Linked DNA regions of Homo sapiens: all the other regions are linked to region 1. The links are contacts of gene promoters, found by promoter capture Hi-C in blood cells and fetal thymus (Javierre and others, 2016). All regions are on one chromosome and are shown on one strand. The core of a region is centred on a gene start or on the middle of the fragment in contact, and the rest is flanking DNA. Distances in the headings are between cores, read along the strand shown.

The links. The method cuts DNA at HindIII sites, captures the fragments that hold promoters and counts their contacts. A CHiCAGO score of 5 or more calls a contact.
Region 2: a contact is called between a fragment that was not itself captured here and the fragment with the promoter of NRP2 in region 1, in 4 of 17 cell types (non-activated CD4 T cells, total CD4 T cells, naive CD4 T cells and 1 more). The highest score is 10.9, in non-activated CD4 T cells.
Region 3: a fragment that was not itself captured here is called in contact with the fragment with the promoter of NRP2 in region 1 in 1 of 17 cell types (non-activated CD4 T cells); the score reaches 5.2 in non-activated CD4 T cells.
Region 4: a contact is called between a fragment that was not itself captured here and the fragment with the promoter of NRP2 in region 1, in 5 of 17 cell types (megakaryocytes, M1 macrophages, erythroblasts and 2 more). The highest score is 13.3, in megakaryocytes.
Region 5: a fragment that was not itself captured here is called in contact with the fragment with the promoter of NRP2 in region 1 in 5 of 17 cell types (non-activated CD4 T cells, total CD4 T cells, activated CD4 T cells and 2 more); the score reaches 8.0 in non-activated CD4 T cells.

Annotation. Positions count from the first base shown.
Region 1 is chr2:205,680,369-205,684,581 of GRCh38, forward strand. NRP2 (neuropilin 2) reads left to right here and starts at 2,133. Exons shown (of 17, transcript NM_003872.3): 1 at 2,133-2,995. The coding sequence starts at 2,923. RefSeq lists a silencer at 1,534-1,653 and an enhancer at 4,128-4,213. The HindIII fragment of the contact is 6,030 bases long and covers 1-4,213 here.
Region 2 is chr2:204,855,498-204,859,999 of GRCh38, forward strand. All of the region lies in intron 2 of PARD3B (par-3 family cell polarity regulator beta), which reads left to right. Among named protein-coding and RNA genes, the nearest start is that of PARD3B, 310 kb to the left of the region's middle. The HindIII fragment of the contact is 8,221 bases long and covers 1-4,502 here.
Region 3 is chr2:204,736,203-204,740,489 of GRCh38, forward strand. All of the region lies in intron 2 of PARD3B (par-3 family cell polarity regulator beta), which reads left to right. Among named protein-coding and RNA genes, the nearest start is that of PARD3B, 190 kb to the left of the region's middle. The HindIII fragment of the contact is 2,302 bases long and covers 1,368-3,669 here.
Region 4 is chr2:204,888,390-204,892,962 of GRCh38, forward strand. All of the region lies in intron 2 of PARD3B (par-3 family cell polarity regulator beta), which reads left to right. Among named protein-coding and RNA genes, the nearest start is that of PARD3B, 350 kb to the left of the region's middle. The HindIII fragment of the contact is 2,392 bases long and covers 848-3,239 here.
Region 5 is chr2:204,838,949-204,843,494 of GRCh38, forward strand. The region is part of intron 2 of PARD3B (par-3 family cell polarity regulator beta); the gene reads left to right. Among named protein-coding and RNA genes, the nearest start is that of PARD3B, 300 kb to the left of the region's middle. The HindIII fragment of the contact is 221 bases long and covers 1,936-2,156 here.

The sequences.
Region 1 (4,213 bases), core at 883-3,382:
TGATTCTTACTTTTCTCTACTCTGGAAGCAGCCTGATGGGGACCTTCATCCCTGAGACCCCAAGACCAGAAGTCCAGGGTTGTCATTCTTATGGTTCTCCAGTGGGCTTAGGTTTACCTTTTCTCTCTTCTTTCCCCCTTTCACAGTGCCCTTCACCTAAACCCTGGCTACATTATTCTCACAAACAGGAGTCTCCCACATTGGGCACTGGCAAAAATGGTTTGGCATGCCTGGTGAGTGGTGGGGAGAGGTGATATTAAATGGCCCTCTCTATTCAGGGACTGTCACTACAGATAGCGTTCTTTGTCCTTAGATTAGCATCTTGGCAATGACATAAACCGGGATCTCTGCTTAAGGTTAATAATCCAAACTGCTCTTTTACTTTGTTAAATATTTAAGGCTTGGAGTCATTCTTTACAATTGAGCTTTAAAGAGGAGAAATGTAAATCTGGAGTTTTTAATAATGTGGATGTGCTCTCAAGCCTAGAAAGGAAGGAAGAAGGAAGGAAAGGAGGGAGGAAGAGGAAGGAGGGAGGCAAAGAGGGAATGAAAGGTAGCATTTAGGCTAGCCAAGAGACATGCTCCCTGGAAGAACTCAGAGGCCTCTGTGCTGTGCCTTTCCCAACCAGGCATCTGAGATTAACAGTGTGATACTCAGCCTGTGGATTTCCACTCTAAAATCCCGCGCCACCCCCCAACACAGCTTGGCTCAACTATTTGCAAATCACTTCTGATTCAATTTTGTTTTGGTTATCTCAGTGTAAATAACAGTTAAGTGGGAGTTACAGATTTTTCAAACACTAAAAGTGATAAAGCTAATGGGCAAGTCCAGATAAGGAGGGAAACCACCCAGAAGAATCCACAAGTACAAGCCAAGAAGAAAATGGGTAGTCAGGTGTGTGTTTCTCGTCACCGAAACTGTATTTTTCTTAATCTACAGAAAATTTTACTTTCTTAATTTAAAAAAAATCTTAATCTGTAAATATTTTTCTGAATTTTCTTATTTTTCATATACCTCTTTTGTGGCAGAAAAGGTGTACATGTGCAGGGTGTAATTTAGGCTGTTTCTGTTGCAGTCTTTATGATAATGTAGTAATAGGTGTCTGGTGAAGCAAGACAGTTTGGAATCCACAAAGCCATCCTCAGAAACAAAGATACAAGTGTTTCCCCAACTGTTAGCTTGCAGTTCCCTCTAAACAGTTTTCACGCCTCCATTTAAAAATAGTTGGCATAATGATGTTTTCTTTCTCTAGGCTTTGTGACCACGTTTCCATGGGGGAAAATGTGAATAGACGTAGTTACAGTAGCATTTGGATGAGACGCCTTCAAGCACCTATACTTTTTCGGGGGAACTTGATGGAATCCAATTTAATTACCTGAAGAAATTATTTGCTGAAGAAAGTCTTTCCTCTTTTTAGGGTAGTTACAGTTAAAGGCGCAGGGGTAACGAAATCCTAACCCAGAGAGGAGCAGAGCATGTTTGGGACATAACAAAGGATCTGAGTAGTAAACGCAGCGAGTGTTTGGGGTTTTATTCAGACCGGGCTGACGGTGTGTGTCGCCGCCACGCACCGCTGCCTGTTCGAACGCATGGCTGAGCTGCCGACCGGCTCGCTACCCCAAACACCGTACGCCACCCAACTCCTCTTGTAACGCCATCGCGCGTGGCATTGTGTTGGGTTCTGCGTGTGTGGCATCGGAGTCGTGGAATTTAGGGGGAACAAGGCTTTTCCCCCCGTCCCCCCGGGGTCTCCCTTGGGTGGGGGCGACACGGCCAAGGCGGCGCGCCCTGGGGGTGCCCGGGGGCGCTTCTTCCCCAGGGCGTTACGCACCGGCGGCCCGGCGCGGAGGTGCGCGGGGGCGATCGGGAGATGCGGGGCGGGCGAGGGGTGGTGGGATGGGCGCCGCCTTAACTTCGATCCTGCGGCGGCCCGAGAGAAGCCGTCGCCGCCCCGCCCGAGCTGGGTGCCGCGGCACTCTGCTCTGCGCCGCGCGTCTCCGCGGCTGCCTCTTTAATCAGGAACACAGAAGGGGCGGGCCCTGAGCCGGCGCGTAATCGGATAGCTCTGCCGCGGCTCTGACATCCACATGCTGCTCGGCCTGAAAAGGCAGTGGGGAGCCGGAGGGGAGGCAGAGATCGCGAGCGAGGCACCAGCCTGCAGCCGGCCCCCAGCACATCCTCAGCCGCACAGACACTCGGCGAGGTGGAGGTGAGGGCGGGCGCCAGCGAACTCGGAGAGGGGCTCGCTCACTCCCAGGCGATCCCAGCCGCCACCGCCGCCGCACCAGCAGCAGCAACAGCAGCAGCAGCTTCCTTCCTCAGACTCCCCTCGAGAGGCTGGCCAAGCGGGTGTAGCCGTTGGGGGAGGCTCCCGCCGGGGGAACCCGGCGAGGACAAGAGCAGGGCGGCCGCCTTCCACTCGGGCTGTCCGGCGGCGGCTGCCTCCGCCCGTGTGTCCGTCAAGGGTGCCGCGGGATGTGTGTCAGTTTACGCCTCTGAGATCACACAGCTGCCTGGGGGCCGTGTGATGCCCAAGGCAAGTCTTGGTTTTAATTATTATTATTATCATTATTGTTACGCTTGGCTTTCGGGAAATACTCGTGATATTTGTAGGATAAAGGAAATGACACTTTGAGGAACTGGAGAGAACATATATGCGTTTTGTTTTTAAGAGGAAAACCGTGTTCTCTTCCCGGCTTGTTCCCTCTTTGCTGATTTCAGGAGCTACTCTCCTCCTGGTGAGGTGGAAATTCCAGCAAGAATAGAGGTGAAGACAAGCCACCAGGACTCAGGAGGGAAACGCTGACCATTAGAAACCTCTGCATAAGACGTTGTAAGGAGGAAAATAAAAGAGAGAAAAACACAAAGATTTAAACAAGAAACCTACGAACCCAGCTCTGGAAAGAGCCACCTTCTCCAAAATGGATATGTTTCCTCTCACCTGGGTTTTCTTAGCCCTCTACTTTTCAAGACACCAAGTGAGAGGCCAACCAGGTAAGCCACTGAAAGTTTTTCTATTTATTGCAACATGGTTTCCCCTTTAAAAGTGACCGCTAAAGCAGGAAGGCCACGCAGAACGGCACAGAAGAAGGCTCCCTCAGTACTCAATAATTTAAAGAGAGATCCCAGCCGGCCCTTCCTACACCACCACGGCTGCTAAAACCCAACTTTCCTCTCCTGCTAGGAGTGTGTGTGTGTGTGTGTGTGTGTGTGTGTGAGTGTGTTTTGAAACAGAATTTGGCGGTGTTCATATGTCACATATGGACTGAATCAAAGGTTTAAAAATACTACAAAGCCTTTGCATTACAGTTTTTGGGAATTTTTTTTCCCTGTCTTGAAGCAGAACACATCTCCCTTGAGTTTCTCCAACTAGCCAGTGAAATATAAATCATTTGCATTCCCTCCACTTAGCTACATTGAGCAATGTTAACTGAAGGGCTTGGGAAAGACAAGAGTTTAGTTTTGGTTTTCAGATGCTGTAGATTCTTTGGAGAATGACTGGTTATGCTTCAGAATCATAAGGCTCAGGCTGGTGGAGCAAGTTGGCTTGTGGCTGAGATAGGGGCTTGGGGTTGGGTGCTGCTGGCAACCAAGACGGTTGGTCTCTTCTCTCTTCATCCATGTGTTGTCTGGGAAAGTAAATCGTACGTTCTTTTAGAAATTATTATTAGCTAAAACAAATTGCAGGCCCTCGAAGGTCTCTCACTCTTGTGAAGTGGTTAGAAACTTTTGAGTGGAATTTGTTCTCAACCACTGCCAAAAAGGGTGTGTGGACAGGCTGCTGTGGAGATAAGCATTTCGAGGCCCAGAACAGTCTGGGGACCGCATTTGTGGGGAGCGGCAAGGGGTATGCTCTGGAAAGGGGAATCCATGGGGAATGCAGTGGGGTTTGTGCTTCCTTCTCGGACCACTCTCTAGAGTGAGCCTCCCTACCCCTCTGAGAACAGTGTCTGGAATCTAACAACAAAACTCTTAGCAGCTGCTACAGGTGATTGGAGATGGAGAAACCATCTATGGAGGAAATGGGTGAAAGAAAGGCGAAAAAGCCTTCCTGAAGTGCCCTCACCCAAGGCACTTGCAAGGCGATGGCGGCAGTGGTAGAGCTAACTCTGCAGCCTCCTTGGCATCCCCAGAACATCAGCTAGTGGATCCTAGCCTTGCATCTGGTACTGTCACCCTTCCTTCTCCTCACGCCCCCCACCAGCACACACA
Region 2 (4,502 bases), core at 1,523-4,022, 820 kb before region 1:
TGCCACTGCACTCCAGCCTGGTGACAGAGCAAGACTCCCTCTAAAAGAAAAAAAAATATATATATATATATATATAAGGAATTTAAAAATATATAATACATTATTACTAACTGTGGTCACCATGCAGTGCAGTAGATCATTAAAACTTACTCCTCCAGTCTAATGAAACTTTGTAACCTTTGATCAACATTTCCCTTTCCCCCATTCTTTCTCCCCATTGCTCCATATTCTGGTACCCACCTTTGTACTCTCTGCTTCTGTGAGATTGGCTTCTTTAGATTCCTCATGTGAGTGAGATCATGTGGTATTTGCCTTTCTGTGCCTGGCTCATTTCACTGAGCAAAGTACTCTAGTTCCATCTATGTTGTCCCAAAGGATGGAATTTTTCTCTTTTTAAAGGCTATATAGTATTTCAGTGTAAACATACCACATTTTCTTTATTCATTCATTTGTTGATGAATAGTTAGATTGCTTTCATATCTTGGCTATTTTTGAATAATGCTGAAATAAACATGGGAGTGCAGATATCTCTTTGACATGTTGATTTCATTTCCTTTGGAAATATATCCAGAAGTGGGATTGCTGGATCATATGATAATTTTTATATCTTTTAGGAAACTCCATACTGTTTCCCAAAATGGTTGTACTGATTGACATTCCCACCAACACTCTACACAAAGGTTGCCTTTCCTCCATATCTTCACCAATATTTATCACTTGTCTTTTTTGTAATAGTCATTCTAACAGGCAGGAGGTGATATCTCATTGTGGTTTTAATTTGTATTTCTTTGATGATTAGAGATGTTGAGCATTATTTTCATATATATTTTGGTCATTTGTATTTCTTCTTCTGAGAAATGCCTGTTCAGATCCTTTGCCCATTTTTAAAACAGTTTTCTTTCTGTTGAATTGTGGGAGTTCCCTATATATTTTGAATATTAGCCCCTTATCAGATGGACGGTTTGCAAATATTTTCTCCCAATCTAGGTTGTATCTTCACTCTGTTAACTGTTTCCTTTGTTGTGCAGAGGAAACAATTTTTAGTTTGATGCAATCCTGTTTTTCTGTTTTTGCTTTCATTGCCTGTGCTTTTGGAATGCTATCCAATAAATCATTTCCCAGACTGGTGTCATGGAGCATTTCCCTTGTTTTCTTCTACTTATAGTTTCAAGTTTTATGTTAGATTTCTTTATTCTTTTGAGTAAATTTTTGAATATGTTGTGAGATAAAAGTTCAATTTCATTTTTCTGCTTGTGAATATCCCATTTTCCCACCACCATTTATTAAAGAGACTGTACTTATTTCCAATTTTGGCACCTGTGTGTCATAATTTACTATAAATACTTAGATTTCTTTCTGGGTTTTCTGTCCTGTTCATTGGTTGACGTGTCTGTTTTATGCCATCCAGTACCATGCTGTTTTGATTATAAAAGAGTTTTAGGATTTTCTTTTTTAGATCAGTGTGTAATGCCTCCAGGTTTTTTGTTTGTTTGTTTGTTTTGCTCAAGATTGCTTTGGTTGTTATGGGTCTTTTCTTGTTCCATATTTGACCCCCACTCCACTTTTAAATTTAAAAAAGAATCTCTCACTTATTATCAGTTATTGCTGAAGCCAGTGAAATTCATATTATTATCTGTTTTGCATCACTGTTTGAATGCTGCATATCAATCCCCTGGTGAACTTTGAGCATCTTTTTTCAACTTTCTTCAGTTAATATCATTCAGATTCATGAAGGCACATCTTTCTTCAGCAGTTCATAAATTAGCAGCATACATTTTAGGGGAGAGCCTTCATCTAAAAGTAACTCTTTATCTTAAGAATAAATCCTGTTTGTATCTGTCTCTCAAGCTATTGGTGCCTTTATAAGTTATCTTATGTGGAAGAGAATGTAGGGGAAGGAAAATTTGTTTTCTCACCCATTTCTAGGTTCATGACTGAGGCCCCTATAGGAAAAGACAGATGAATGAGAAAAAATCATACAAATGTACTTAATATAAAAGTTTTATGTGACATAGGACACTTCATAGGAAAATTAAGATGCAAAAAAACAGAGAGACCTGTGTATTTTTATGCTAAGTTTGATTAAGAAGTTGATAATTATAGATAAATATTTTTGGACAAAGGGAGTATGATCTAATGGAATTGAACTGGGGGACAGGGGTCAAACAAGGCCTTCTTGTTCATATTCTTCTCTGTGTCTTCAGAGATAAGAATGTTTCTTTCCTCCAAGCATAGGAAGAACACTTCTGGGGAGAAAGTCAGAGAGTGACATCCTCGATTTTATAGCCTGCTTCAGGGGACAAGAGCCAAGGGAAGGTGAGAATGGCCTTCCTGCTTCTGAAGTTTTCTCAAATGTCAAGATGACATAATTAGAGATTCTGAACCCCATTAAGAGCTCATCCCAAGACAAAAGGAATGAGACAAACATATCCTTCTACAGATCCTTAATCGTCTAAAGGGAGGGTTAGTCCTGAACACTTGGTAATTTGGATTTGTCTTTCAAACGGTACTTCAATGGAATTTATCTGGGTTCACAGTTCCAAACTTTAAATTATGGTATAAATGGATACAATAGTGTATCCATAATATTGTAAATGGATTCAATGGATTCCATAAGTTTAAGTATATATAAACAGCATATTTAAACTTAAGGAAACTAGTTAATTGCTCATTTTATCAAATACGTTAATACTATCATATTAACCTTAGTTTTCATCAAGTGGTAAAATATCTTTAAAGTTAAAGTACCAGAGAGGATCACCTCAATTGAAACATGTTCATTGCAGCATTATCCACAATAGCCAGGATACAGAGACAATCTAGGTATTTATCGGTAAAGAAACTGTGGTGTGTATACACAATAGAATATTATTCAGCCTTTTTAAAAAAGGAGATTCTGCTCTATGCCACAACATGGATGGTCCTGGAGTATATTTTGCTAAATGAAACAAGCCAGACACAGAAAGGAAAATACTACATGAACTCACTTATATGTGGAATCTAAAAAAAAAAAAAAAAGGAAAATGAAATATATAGAGAGGATAAAACAGTGGTTGCCAGAGTTGGGGTAGGGGAGGAAATAGATTTAGGTCAAAGGATGCAACATAGGGTACATTAATGATAGTGTATTGTATTTACGATTTTTGCTAAATGAATAGATTATAGCTGTTCTTGCCATGGGAGGGGAAATGGTTAACTATGTGAGATGATGGGTGTGTTAATTTGTTCTACAACAGTAACAGTTTTACTGTATATATAGGTGTATATATTATATATACATATATAATATATAAAAAATATAGTAAAATACATATATAATATAACATGTTATATACCTTCAATATATACAATTTATTTAAAAACTCATTTATGATTTCAGTTAGAATTTTTAAAAACATTATGCTTCAGAGTATTTATTGCTTTTAACCCTCACAAAATTATGCATCATTCTCATGTTTCCAATATTCACCTGGGTTTGTCTAAGTATTTGAGGAAAAGTAAAAGTTTTTAAGAACTTTATTATTCTCAAATTTCAGTGAAATTAGAATGTAAAATCTTAGATGTGAATACTTTTACATGATGTTTATTAAATATAGTATGCTTCAAGGCAAAAAAATATGACATTGAAGACCAATATTTAATAGCCAATTTTTTCTTTTCTTTTTTCTTTTTCTTGAAGTGAGCAGAATATGCATAATGATAGGTATGATGAAATTTTATTTAGTGGTATTCGGAAGTATTCGACTTTAACAAGTATGTGCTGTTCTGTTGTGAATAAAAATTTGGGAAATAAAAACTAGAAACTTTACTCTGCACATATTAGGAGTATAAAAGTAGATTATGTTTTTAGAAATGGATGAGAATAGCCATATACCCCAACATCAAGATCTATGGTCTACAAAGCTAAAAGATGTAAAAGAAATGTGGAGGTTAATACAATAAGAGCACCCTCCCCCATTTATAAAGGTCAGACATGCCTATGGTGTACATTGCTATCTGTAAAGATTGGAAAACCTCAGATGTTGCATCTTAAAATATGTACATTTTCTGACATTTGGGTAGAACAATATAATTTCTTATAAATGAACTTGATTCCTGACATTCAGTTGAATGTTAATTTAATTTTGGTGCTAGTATAGCAAAGTCTTCCACATGTCATCGTAGTTGAGTTATCCTAGGAGTTTTGATGACTGGGAATAAAGAGGGCCTCCCTTGAAGGCTGGGCAGTGATGGAGACGTAAGATAAATTCATAGCAGTAACAAATCTAGAAAGAAAAGCCCTAGAGCATAACCCACAGCAAATCCTGAAACTCTCTTCCTTTAAGGAATTTCCTGGTGGCCTTAGGGAGGATATTAATGGAACTCTTTAGGCTTAACCTTGTTAAGGGACTGTTATGCAGCCCTTGTTGTTTTCTACTTTAAAGTCAAGAATTTTAAGCAGATTAGAATGAAGAATAGTGCAGTGCAGCATAAAGTTAGTATTATACTGTTAATAACATTCA
Region 3 (4,287 bases), core at 1,269-3,768, 940 kb before region 1:
TTTAAATTTAGATTAATTCAGAAAGAAAATGCATTAGTTAAAACAAAGATGTAAAACGTTTTTATTTTTTAAATTCATATTTTCATTTCCATAGCATTTGGGGTACAGTGCTTTTTTTTGTTACATAGATGAATCCTATAGTGATGAATTTTGAGATTTTAGTGTACCCATCAAACTGTGTGTACATTGCACCTAATGCGTAGTTTTTATCGCTAGCCCCCCCTTTCATCCTCCTCCTCCTGAGTCTCTAATGTCTATTATATCACTCTGCATGCCTTTGCGTACTCATAGCTTAACTTCCACTAGTGAGGACATACAGTTTTTGGTTTTAGGTTTTCTACTCCTGTGTTACTTTTTTTAGAATACTGTCCTCTAGCTCCATCCAAGTTGCTGCAAAACATATTATCTTGTTCTTTTTAATAGCTGAGTAGTATTCCATAGTGTATATGTACCACATTTTCTTTATCCACTTGGAAGTTGATGGCATTTAGATTGGTTCTACATCTTTGCAAATGTGAATTGTGCTGCTGTAAACATACGTGTGCAAGTGTCTTTTCATAGAATGACTTCTTTTCCTTTGGGTAGATACTCAATAGTAGGATTGCCGGATTAAATGGTAGATCTACTTTTATCTCTTTAAGGATTCTCCATACTGTTTTTCATAGAGGTTGTACTAATTTACATTCCCACCAGCAGTGTATAACCATTCCCTTTTCCCCACATCCACACCATTATCTATTGTTTTTTGACTATTTATTTATTGAGATGGAGTTTTGCCCTTGTTGCCCAGGCTGGAGTGCAATGGCCCAATCTCAGCTCACTGGACCTCTGCCTCTTGGGTTTAAGTGATTCTCCTGCTTCAGCCTCCCTAGTAGCTGGAATTACAGCTATGGAATTACAGCTGGAATTACAGCACATGCCACCATGCCCAGCTAATTTTTGTATTTTTAGTAGTGATGGGGTTTCTCCATGTTGGTCAGGCTGGTCTCGACCTCAGGTGATCCGCCTGCCTGGGCCTCCCAAAGTGCTGGGATTACAGGCATGAGCCACTGCGTCCCACTGACTTTTTAATCGTGGCCATTCTTGCAGGAGTAGGGTGATAACTCATTGTGGTTTTAATTTGCATTTCCCTGATGGTTAGTGATGTTGAGCATTTTTTCATGCCTTTGACCATTCGTATGTCTTCTTTTGAGAAATGTCTATGTCTTTTGCCCCCTTTTTAATGAGATTATTTGTTTTGCTGATTTGTTTGTGTTCCTTGTAAATTCTGGATACTAGTCCTTAGTCAGATGTGAACTTTGCAAATATTTTCTCCCATTCTGGGTGTTGTCTGTTTACTCTGCTTATTGTTTCTTTTGCTGTGTGGAAGCTTTTTAGCTTAATTTGGTTCCATTTATTTGTTTTTGTTGCATTTGCTTTTGGGATCTTAGTCATGAATTCTTTGCCTAGGCCAGTGTCTAGAAGAGTTTTTCCAACATTGTCTGCTAGAATTTTTATAGTTTCAGATCTTATATTTAAGTCTTTGGTCTATCTTGAGTTGATTTTTGTATGAAGTGAGATATAGGTATCCAGTTTATTCTTTTATATGTGGTTTGCCGGTTTTCCCATTTAATACATAGGATGTCCATTCCCCAATTCATGTTTTTGTATGCTTTGTTGAAAATCAGTTGGCTGTACATATTTGGCTTTATTTCTGGGTTCTCTGTTCTTTTCCATAGATCTATGTGCCTACTTTTATACCAGTACCATGCTGTTTTGGTAACTGTAGTCTTGTAGTATAATTCAAAGTCCAGTCATGTGATACCTCCAGATTTGTTCAAAAACTTTTGCTTAGGATAGCTTTGGCTATTCGGGCTCTTTTTTGATTCCATATTAATTTTAGGATTTTTTTTTCTAATTCTGTGAAAAATGATGTTGGTATTTTGATGGAAATTGCATTGAATCTGTAGATTTCTTTAGGCAGTATGGTCATTTTCACAATATTGATCCTTCTAATCCATGAGCATGGGATGCATTTCCATTTGTGTCATCTGTGATTTCTTTTAGCAGTGTTTTGTAGTTCTCCTTGTGGAGATCTTTTACCTCCCGCATTACATATGTTCTTAGGTATTTTATTTTTTTTCCTGATGTTGTAAAAGGGATTGAGATCTTGATTTGATTCTCAGCTAGGTCACTGTTGGTATATAACAGTGCTACATTTTTGTGTATATTGTAAATCTAACTTTCTAATGTGGAACTAATGAGATTGGAATCTGAGGCTAGAGTATTAGCTTTATATTTTTGCGTAATAAATTACCACATAGCTTCTTAAAACAAGTCTAGTTTATTAGGTAGGAGTTCTGAAGGCCAGAAATCTGGACAGACTGAGCTGAGTTCTCTAATTAGGGTCTCACAAGGCCAAAATCGTGGTATCAGCCAGGCTGGGCTCTTTTATGGAGGCTTTGGGATGCTCTGTTGCAGAGTTTGACCTCCTAGACAGGCAGGTCTGAGGTCCCCACATCCTTTCTGGCTGTTCATTATGGTCACTCCCTGCTCCTAGAGGGTGCCCCAATTCTCTCTTGCATTTCCCTTTCATCGGCAAATGAGCAACATCTGATTTTTTTTCTTCCCTAACTTCCCCTTCTGCTAACATCAGGAGAAAACTGTTTTTAAATGGCTGATGTAATTAGATGAGACCTACTAAATAGTCTCTCTGGTTTAAGGCCAACTGTATCATATAACATAAAATAATTCCAGGGATGATGTCTCATCATATGCACAGGTTCTAGCTATACTCAGTGGGAGGATTATGCAAGGGTGAGTATCACTGGGAATTCTTAGGATTCTGCCTAAGAGTTTCTACTTTGGTTTTTGGGAGACAATTTTTTAAATCTACTTTTTAATCTACTTACTGGCATGTGTATGTTAGTTCTCTGTGCTTTATCACCTGCCTATTTATTGAATTGTATGTGTTACTTCACTGTACCTCAGCATCTGTCAACTTATTTAAATGTGTGTGTTGGTTTTCTGTGCCTTGGGATCTACTCATTCATTGGAATGTGTGTTTTGGTTGATTGTGCCCCAGTATCTATGTATTGAAATGTGTGTGTTGGTTCACTCAGCCTTTCCATTTATCTATGTATTGAAATGTGTGTGTTGGTTCATTGTGCCATGGCATCTGTCTATTTATTGAAATGAGTATGTTGGTTTTCTGGACCTGGGTATCTGTCTATTTATTGAAATGTGTGTGGGGGTTTCATCATCTCTATTATTATATTATTATTATTTTGAGAGACAGTATTTTGCTCTGTTGCCTAGGCTGGAGCGCAGTGGTACAATCATAGCTCACTACAGCCTCAAACTCCTGGGCTCATGCAAACCTCCAGCCTCAGCCTCCTGAGTAGCTAGGACTACAGGTGTGTGCCACCACACCTGGCTAATGTTTTTGTTTTATTTTATTGTAATGGATATAAGGTCTTGGAATGTTACCCAGGCTGGTCTCAAATCCCTGGCCTCAAGTGATGCTCCCAAACTGCAGGGATTACAGGTGTGAGCCAACCATGCCTGGCCTCATTATGTCTATTTTATCTGTGTATTTTCTCAATGTAAGATAAACAGTTATTTTTATCGGAAAAAAATTTTTGGTTTTAATATTATTTAAGAGGGCAGGCATTTCCTTTTTAAGAATAAAGCTTCTCAGCTTTATTTTGTAATCATAACACAGTAATGACATTTTTAAAAGAAATATACAATGCCCCTTTTTTTTTTGTATTAGTTTCAAAGATATTCCCTAAACTTTAATTCTGTTTTCTTTCTTTCTTTTTCTTTTGTTTTTTCTTTTTTGTGATGGAGTCTCAGTCACTCTCTCATCACCCAGGCTGGAGTGCAGTGATGCCATCTCGGCTCACTGCAACCTCTACCTCCCAGGTTCGAGTGATTCTACTGCCTCAACATCCCAGGTAACTGGGATTACAGGTGTGCTATCATGCCTGGCTAATCTTTTTTTTTTTTTAGTTTTTAGTAGAGACAGGGTTTTTGCCATGTTGGCCAGGCTGATCGCGATCTCCTGACCTCCAGTGATCTGCCTGCCTTGGCCTCCCAAAGGGCTGGAATTACAAGTGTGAGCCACTATGCCCGGCCAACTTTAATTCTTTACATCTTCGGCACATTTATTTTCTGATTGCTCTGTATGAAATCAAATCCAGCCATAACTTTATTGCTAGCATGCTTCAGTTATCTATTTCTGTAAACAAGCCAGCTTAGCCGCAGTAGTATAAAACAAAAACTGTTTTATTATGCTTCTGGATT
Region 4 (4,573 bases), core at 794-3,293, 790 kb before region 1:
AAGCCAAAGGAACAGATGAGGCCTTGAAGTTGACATCAAATGGGACATAAATGTGTTAGAAGGTGTGAAGAGTGACTCATCCCTATAATCCTGGTACTTTGGGAGGCCAAGCCAGGCAGATCTCTTGAGCTCAGGAATTTGAGACCAGTCTTGGCAACATGGTGAAACCCCATCTGTACAAAAATACAATAATTAGATGGATGTGGTTGTGTGCTTCTGTAGTTCCAGCTACTCGGGAGGCTCAGGTGGGAGGATCATTTGAACCTGGGAGGTCAAGGCTGCTAGTAACCAAGATTGTGCCACTGTACTCCAGCCTGGGCAACAGAATGAGACCCTGTCTCAAAAAAAAAAAAAAAAAAAATGTATGGAGGGACCAAGATGAGGAGGCCTGAGAAAAGTTCATTTTCATGACAGTAGAAATCTCTTGAGAATCCAATAAAATGGTAAGAAAAACAAACAAAAGATAGGATAGGAGAGACTAACTAGGTATTTTATGAAACATAAGGCTGGTAAATTGTATATAAGCTAAAGAATTATAGATGAAACTTTTGATAATAGACTGTTTATCCCTAGATAACCAAGGCCAGATGAGGAATATTATGTGCAGTGCCAGGGTGAGATAAGTAGAGAGATAAGTAGAGGTGCTATTGCTGGACTCCCAGAGCTCAATGCCTTATGCTTCTGGTGTTGTTCTCTCATTGTGGGGAAACTGAGTAAGCCGTGCGTCTTTTTCATTTTGCCTCCCAGTTACTCTAGATTGGTTTTCTAGATCCATTAACTCTTAAGGGTCATTCCAGTCCAGCTCTGAGCACATCAAATCTATTGCTTCTCATCCTTTACACCAATAAGCTTGACTCCTTCTAAAGGTCTTCTCTGCTCTTCATGATCTCGATTCTTCCTGCATTCCTAAGAATGAAAGACACAAATAGCTTTTATAGAGAATGCCCTGTGATAGATAAAGCAGTTGTCTCTCTACTATATATAAAAGGGATGCTGATATTTGCCATCTTCCTCAATGAGCAGGACCAGTTACATTTGCAGGGCCCAATGCAAAATGGAATGTGGACCCATTATTCTCAATTTATTAAGAATGAAGCCAACAACAACAGAACAATAAACCAAACAAAGTAGGGGGTCCTCTTTGTGCATTACCCATGAAGCCAGCCCTGGCTCCAGAACTGTTCAAGTCCAGCTAGATGGCAGTGCCATTCTGCCATTATAAGAAGCAGCATGATCTAAAGGAATATTACAGATGTTTAAACAAAAAATTGAATATGTGCTGAGTAAAATTCATTTATGATGTTAAATGATTTCCAACAGTCAGCAGGCATGGCTGTGTATACCTCTGATAGTCATTCACAGTGTCAAACTACTTAGGCTTACTTTTTACATCCAGTTCACCACTGAACCTTCAACTGATTCAAGGCTGGTGAAGAGAAAACTGAAGATGTTAGGACTCTTCCAGAGTAACATACGGAAAGTTTCTTTTCCGTGAAATAACAAACTGGTTTTCTAATAGCTGTATTCTTTCCAACTGGAAGCATTCTAATCAGTTACCCAGAATTGCTGATTCTAAATCCATCTGAATTATATAATGTGTTTCTCCTTCTATAGAAAGAGGTATACAGTGTTTTTTTCTGGAAAGTTAATTTTACTTTTGGCATATGTTCTCTGGGACTATCGGTTTTATTGCAACTGGATGCAGAATTTACCATGTCTGCTTTGCCTTCTCCGCCTTCTCCGCATGCCAGCAGGAGCACTCACCACACTGCAATCCATCTGGCCCCTGGCTGGCAGTCTAGGCACAGTGTCAATGCTGTGGTGGCCCTAGTGTGTACAGGAAGGTATGCTTTGGTTCAGAACTGCATACATAGTAGGCATTTTATAAATACTTACTGAATGAATAAATAGAAGATGACAAGGCATGGAACAGCATAATGGTCTTGGGAATGCTTGTGTTTTCCTAATATATCCAGAAGGAGAAAATAATTTTCAGCCCCTAGTCAAGAAGTTTCATTTGCCTCCACATTCAAGGGTGGGAGTATCTCAGTTGATGAAATATATGCTTCTGACCAAAACATGTATACATTGAATATATATTAAATTTATTGGGTAATTATTTAAAGGAACAGTATGTTAATGGATTTTCCTTGTTTTGGGTACCATCATTGATTTCCACCTCCCCCCACCACATCCCCTTATAGTCTTTGTCTGAGGATTTCACTATAAATGAAATTAGCTGAAGAAAACCAGGAGAAAACCAGGACACATGCACAACGGTAAGTGTCACAAAGTGACAACTGAGCTAGATGTACACATGGCCTAAGGCCTGCTAGCCACAGGGAGGCAGGGATGTCCCCTCTTGCTCAGCCTCCCATCCTGTGTTCCCTCACTCATTTTTATTAAGTGATAGCACGTTTCACTGCAGCTACTACAGCATCTTTGCTGTCTGGAGGGTATTGTTTTGGATGCGGATGTTGTTTAGGATTTAAAACAACTGTGACATTGATCCTTTTCAACAGGCAAGAGATAATATCTCTTGCCATCATCCACTGCCTCCATGAGGATATTCTAGGAATCTGTATCTAATTACCTGTGCAGCTAATTACCACTTCCATGTTAAGCAGCAGCAGTAATCTCTTTTTCCTTTCAAGTCCATTTTATGGCATCAAACTGTATTATATTCTCTTTTCAATGGCTGCTGACAAAATTACAACAGCACCACCCAGGACCCGATATGGAATCTGCCTGCCCGTGATTCAACTGCACGCTGTGTGTTTTCTCTTAAGTCCTTTTCTTTTTTTTTTTTTTTTAACCTTGTGCTATTAAATACCTATACATCGGAATCATCTCCCCATAGCTCCATTTGTTTGATTAGCATTACGATACTGTGACAAGACACTATATCAGTAGTAATCGATCTGATTAGCATGGAGATGATATGAACACAGATTGTATTGATGTTTAATAGTGAAGGCATCCAGGTGCTGTAAACATTATAGATGTTTTTGTATGCTGCGTGCAAGGTCTCTGTATTGAAGACGGCAACCGCAGCAGATTTTAGAGCTCGATGATTTATTTTATGCCAAGTGCCACAGTGGGTCTTGCATAGTGTATGGCATTCCTTTGCTTTATCTTGCACAAAATGTTTTAATCAGTGTTCAAAATAATGCAAATATTTTCACTGGAGAGATTCTAATATTGCTTTATTAAGAGATGCTTGCAATACTGCAGTAAAAAGCTTACTGCAGTCTCATTGAAAACCAGCCACATTCTTCTCTGAACTCTTGTCTCTTCCCTTACTCTTGTCACCATTATACCTGGAGAGCTACCATTTGCCAGCTAATATTCAGCCCCAGATGTTCCCCCTGGACAATTTTTCTGAATTTGCCTATCCTTTGGCTCTCAGTAGTTAGGAGTATTTTCCCCTGGGCAGTTCTAGAGCTTTGTGCTCCTGTTCTGGTACCCCTGGCTCTGTGTTTATGCATCCATGCCTCTTTACTTTGTAATTAGGATGCCCCGAAGGTAGTCATTGAAAATTACCATGTCTTTGTACATGGCAACCAGTGGAATGCTTAGCATTGATTATTCATTTATTTATTTAACACATATGTATTGAGTGCTTCATGACGCTTATATTCTGCTGAGAGGGAGAGAGACAATATAACATTATAACACAGGTAATGATAAGTAGATAGGGGGAGCCAGAGGGGACAAGGTGAAATGGAGAATACTGTCTTATTTGTAGAGAAGAGGAAGAGCTTACATTGCTATGAAGGTGCAATCAAGGTGGGGAGAGAGCAATGAGTGTGAAAGCCATAGTCTGGAGTGTGCTTAGGCTCTTCCAGCAGGAGCAAAGGAACACCTGTGCCTGGAGGTGACTGTGGAGAGAGTTGGAGGTGAAGCTTGACAGGTGCAGTGGGTGGAGGAAGATCTTATTGTGGGCCACATTGAGGATGTTGACTTTGACTTGGAGTGAATTGGGCACTCATTAGCTTAGACCAGAGGATTTACTTTGAATAATATGAAACAGTCTCAATAACTGATCTATTCAGTATGGTAGCCGCTAGTCATGTGTGGCTGTTGAATACTTGTGATGTGGCTACCTTGAATTGAGATGTGCTATATGTAAAACACACATGGATTTTGAAGATGTCGTATGAAAACTAAGAAAAGTGAAATCATCTGATATATAATTACAGTAATAGGATCACTAGCTGCTGTACTGAGAAAAGATATAGGGGTGGAAGTGTCAAATGGTTTGGATCAGGGTGATGTCAGTGGAGATGAAGAGATGTGGTCAGATTCTGGGTGTATTGTGAAGGCAGCCTCAAAAAGATTCATTGATGGATTAGATGTGGGGAAACAAAAGGAAGTCTAAGAGTCTTTTCTGTGCAACTACAAGAAGGGAGTCCTTTTCTTGAGATGAGAAAGACTGGTTGAAAGATCTGGGCTGGGGAAAGGGAGAATCAGTAAGTTGTTAGTGTATGTGTTAAGTTAGAGATAACAATTACAAATCTAGACAAAAGATGATTTGACAGTTATAAAAGACTGGAGTTTATAGAAATGGCTC
Region 5 (4,546 bases), core at 796-3,295, 840 kb before region 1:
GTATCCTCTGTTCACTATGTGTAGATCATAAGTTGAGGAAAGAGATTTTAACCATGAAGTTAAAGTCATATGCTACACCAAAGTAAGCTAGATGTTGATTTGCCAAATCTGTAGTTAATTTATCTCTGCTGGGCTCCATTTAGGATTTGATTTTAAGAAGGGAGTTGTTTGCCATAATGTTACAAGGTCAGCCCTGTTCTGGGTTTCTATTAGCTACAGTTAGTGTTTTGGAGTATCAGAGAAACGGTGCTTCCTTATATTCAGCTCATGGCATCAGGAGGCACAAAATCTGTGCTTTTACAGCAGCATAAATTTCTCTGGTCAAGGTCAGTTGTGTTAGCAAGGCACATATCATCGTATCAATTTTACATTTTCTAAGTCATTTTGTAGACATTTTGTTGAGTAAAAGTATTCTCTTACTTCTAGTAAGGTAGTTTCAGGAAAACACTTAAGTATTATATATGTAAACCAAACAGACTTTTCCCATTGATTAACTGTATTTTCCATTTTGATTTTAGAAATGTTTACCTTAAGCCTGGCCACAGCTTTGTGGCGACTTCTTCAATGTACTCCCTGCCTCAATCTGATGTGGCCATGCACTCGAAATTCTTAACTTTCTATTTACTCTTTTAGAGAGAGATGATTTGTATAATCTTTCTCTTCTCCACATCCCACTGTTCCCTGTATGTCCCTCCTTTTCTCTTGTGCCTCATTTTGTGTGTGCATTTGACAACAAATGCAGGGAGGAAAACAAACAAACTGAGTATAATCAGCAAGAAAAAACATCATCTTATGAACTGGCAACCAAATTCTTCATGAAGAATTTGGTTTTTGAAGAACAACTGTTTTTGTTCAAGATAATACTTTGAAAAAAGATTTGTCATAGAAGTTTAAAAACTTGAATAGACAGCTCTCATTGTCTGTAAGGCTAGGTTTCTGCGGCTTTTAATGTGTAAGAGACTTGTCCCATTTAACAATAAATATTTTAGTGCCACTTAAAAGTATAATTAATATATCTTTCTTAAAAGTGGTATTCCCTCCCTCTACGTATATTTCTCTTTCCTCAGCCCCAAAAGCACATATTCAGGGAGGGAAGGTAAGGGATTTACATCCTTTTTCCATCACTACGTCAAAACTTATACAATTTATACAATTTAATATTATTAAGGTAGTTAATGTAGCAGTTCATGTGAAGTTACTCAGTAGAAATACTTTAAATCATATAAAAATATAGCTGAATATAAATTGAAGGGTCAGAGATTAAGGGTGAAGCAAGTTTTAAAAATCAGAAGCATTTCCAAATTCAAGTTATTTGGGGTAGCTGTAGAGAAATAATTGAATGACCCTTAGCAATATTTTAGGAAAACTTTTACCTAATGAAAAATTCTACTCCAAAGCTGTGTTTTACTTCATAAAATTAATAGAAAGTGGGGAATATCTCTACACTTCCAATATCATGCTTTCCTTTAGTCCTAGTAAAAAGGGACCCAGAATCTTTGTTTTACCCTCCCAAATTACCCACTTTAATACGAATACATGAAAATAGATTTTAAAAAAGAAGTGAATAAAATAGATGAATTTGTCCTTTTTTTTTTTAACTATGGTCCTTAGACAATAGCTTTCAACTCTCCATAGAACTGGAACAACTTGCACGATGTTGACTACAGTAAGATAACAAAATTGTATATTGTATGAGGCAAATACGTGTGGTTGTCTTATCTAACCACAATGATAAGTACGGTAGTGTCATCCAGGGTTTCATCTTCTGCAGTTCAGTTACCTATGGTCAACCACGGTCGCAAAGTAGGTTGAGATCATTACAATGAGATATTTTGAAAGAAAGAACACTTTCACATACCTTTTACTGCAGTATATTGCTGTAATTATTCTTTTTCATTATTAGCATTGTTAGTCTCTTATTCTGCCTAACTGATAAGCTTTATTGTATGTAAGTATAGGAAAAAACATAGTGTATATAGGGTTTGGTGCTATTACCAGGGTCAGGCATCCACTAGGGGTCTGGAAACACATCCCCTGTGGGTAAGGGAAGACTACTGTACATAATTTGATTCTTTCTTTCTTTTTCCCAAATAGTGGTCATATTTGATCAGTCACCTTTGCTCATGAAGAGCACATTGGCAAGGACAACACAAAGAAGCTTGTTCTGCAACTCGGTTTTCTTATGTTAAATATTTAGTTTTCTGCTTGCTTCTTCTTATCTGTTTGTACTTGGTAAGGCTCCCTCCTTCTTATGTGATAGGTTGGATGCTGCCGGAGAGGTTACTAGTGCATGGAAGCTCCAAAACAGAGTGGAATGGAAAATTATAGCCTCAAGGGTATCCTTGGGAAGGAGCCAGACAAAAGGTGCATGCCCACATTGAGACAAAGCTAAAGCAAAACTACCAGGTGTTAGAAAACCCAGAGCACATATACAAGAACAAGGCAAAAAATTCCTGTTACTCTAACAGTATGCCTTACTTTTCTTTAATTTTACTTATTTGTAAAGTAGACAAATGCCCCTGTTGTGTCTTGTTGAGTTACAAGTGCAACAAGTAGCATTCTAGAGTGGGATGTTACTGTCAGTGCCTGTTTTGGGTCACTTTAATATACTGCTGTTTAATTGATTTTATATCTGAAGATGCAGGTCTTTAACATGGACAGATTTTCATAAGATCACTGGAATACTGGCTTTCTTTTGTTTTGCGATGAGGGCAAATTTTCTGTGGTTTATTTTTCCCCATTTCTGGTGAAAATAATATTCTCTTTTCCTCTTCTACAGGGAAGATGGCAGTTTCCTCAGTTAAACTTAGGATCTTTGTCCCTTTTAAATAGGCCATTGTATAAAATACAAATGATCAAAATTGTATCACAGTAATAATTAGCTAATTTTTTTGCAGAAGTTTTTTGGTGGGGTTTTTTTTTGGTGTCAACACAACTTTAAAATAACAAATAATAAGAGAAAACTTTTTAACATTGTAGGAATATGTGAAATTGAATAGCAAACTCAATTTAGATGAGTTCACATGAATAACATACTTCAGGTTGGTAATATTCCAGAAGGTTCAACTGCCTCATAGAAAATTAAATCTCTGAAAAATTCCCCGACTAAAAATCATTTGAAAATTCTAATTTTTTCTAATTATTTGGATTTTCTTATGTTAGATTTCATTTCATGGAAGGATATTGAGTTTGTGTATATTCCTGTGTGTGAACATGTGCTTGTGTGTGCTCTTAATAGCGGTTATTTTTCAAAGCAATAGTCTTTCAAGCCTTTCTCTAATCTCTCCAGCATCTAAAATGAGGTGATATAAAACTCCCAGGTGGGTACTAAATATTAGATTTGTTGACACCAGCATGGGTGCTTGAGTGGTAGTGGGAAAAAGAAAAATGATTGTCTAGAGTTTGTATGCTACAGAATTGAGGTGGTTTCAGCTGCTTTCATTTCCTTTAAAGAATAATATTGTTTTTTTCAAATGAGGAGGATTAAGTAAGCACCTTAAAAAAAGAGGAGCAATATATTGACAACATCTGGTATGAAGAGTTATTATAAAAGGTAAGAGGATCTGTGCCAGAAAAAGAATGGAGAGGGAGATTCTCTCTAATAAATAAATTTCTTTTAAATGTGCCTAAAACATTAAGGGGGTTTTTCCCATTTAAATTTATCTTTGAAAACTCCCTAGAGAAGGAGAGTGGTTTCTGTAACAGCTGGTTAGAATTGCTGAGCAAATGTCTGGAAAAGATGATTTTGAAACAATGTGTTTTGTAATGTTTAAACATTTTACATTTTTGTTGAAACCTGACTTCTGATGAAGAAAATCGCTCTGTACAGCAGGCCTGCGCTGTGGGCTGCTTTTCTGCTTTCTCTAGAGCTGAGTCACTGAGGACTGCTACCTTAGCTCCTCAAAGCTGTTAAATTTCTCGAAGGGAAGCTGAGTCATTAGGAAATGTACCAGAATAGGAGAAAGTAGGTCATTTTGCTAGACTTGGCAAAACTTTCATCAGCTTCAGATTCGCAAGATCTGCAGTTCTCAAACTCCAGGGTTAATCAGAATCTCCTGGAGGGCTTATTCAAACATGCGTGTCTGGGCCCTCCTGGCAGAGTTCCTGATTCAGTAGGTCTGAGCTGAGCCCCGAGGATCTGTATTTCTGACAGGTTCCTAGGTGAAGGTGATGCCGCTAAACCTCGGCCCATACTTTGAGAATTGTTACACTAGTGAAAGCTTGGAGAGAAAAAAAAAATTAGACAAGCCTTCCCCAAAGGTTTGGCAGTCAGCTTCATAGTTGGATGGAGGAGGACACTACCATTTATTAATCACTAGATACTGTCCCAGTCTTGACATTCAATCTTCCATCCAATTCTGTAACATGAGTCATGGTATATCTATGCTGCATAATCATCTGTACAGAACTCACAGAACTCAGTTAGTTTGTTTCCTTCCTCTTCTCTCCTCTCCTCTCCTTTTTCTTTTTTTTCTCCATTGCCCTGGCTGAGGTACAGTGGCGTGATCTTGGTTGACTGCAACCTCCACCTGTGGGGTTCAAGTGA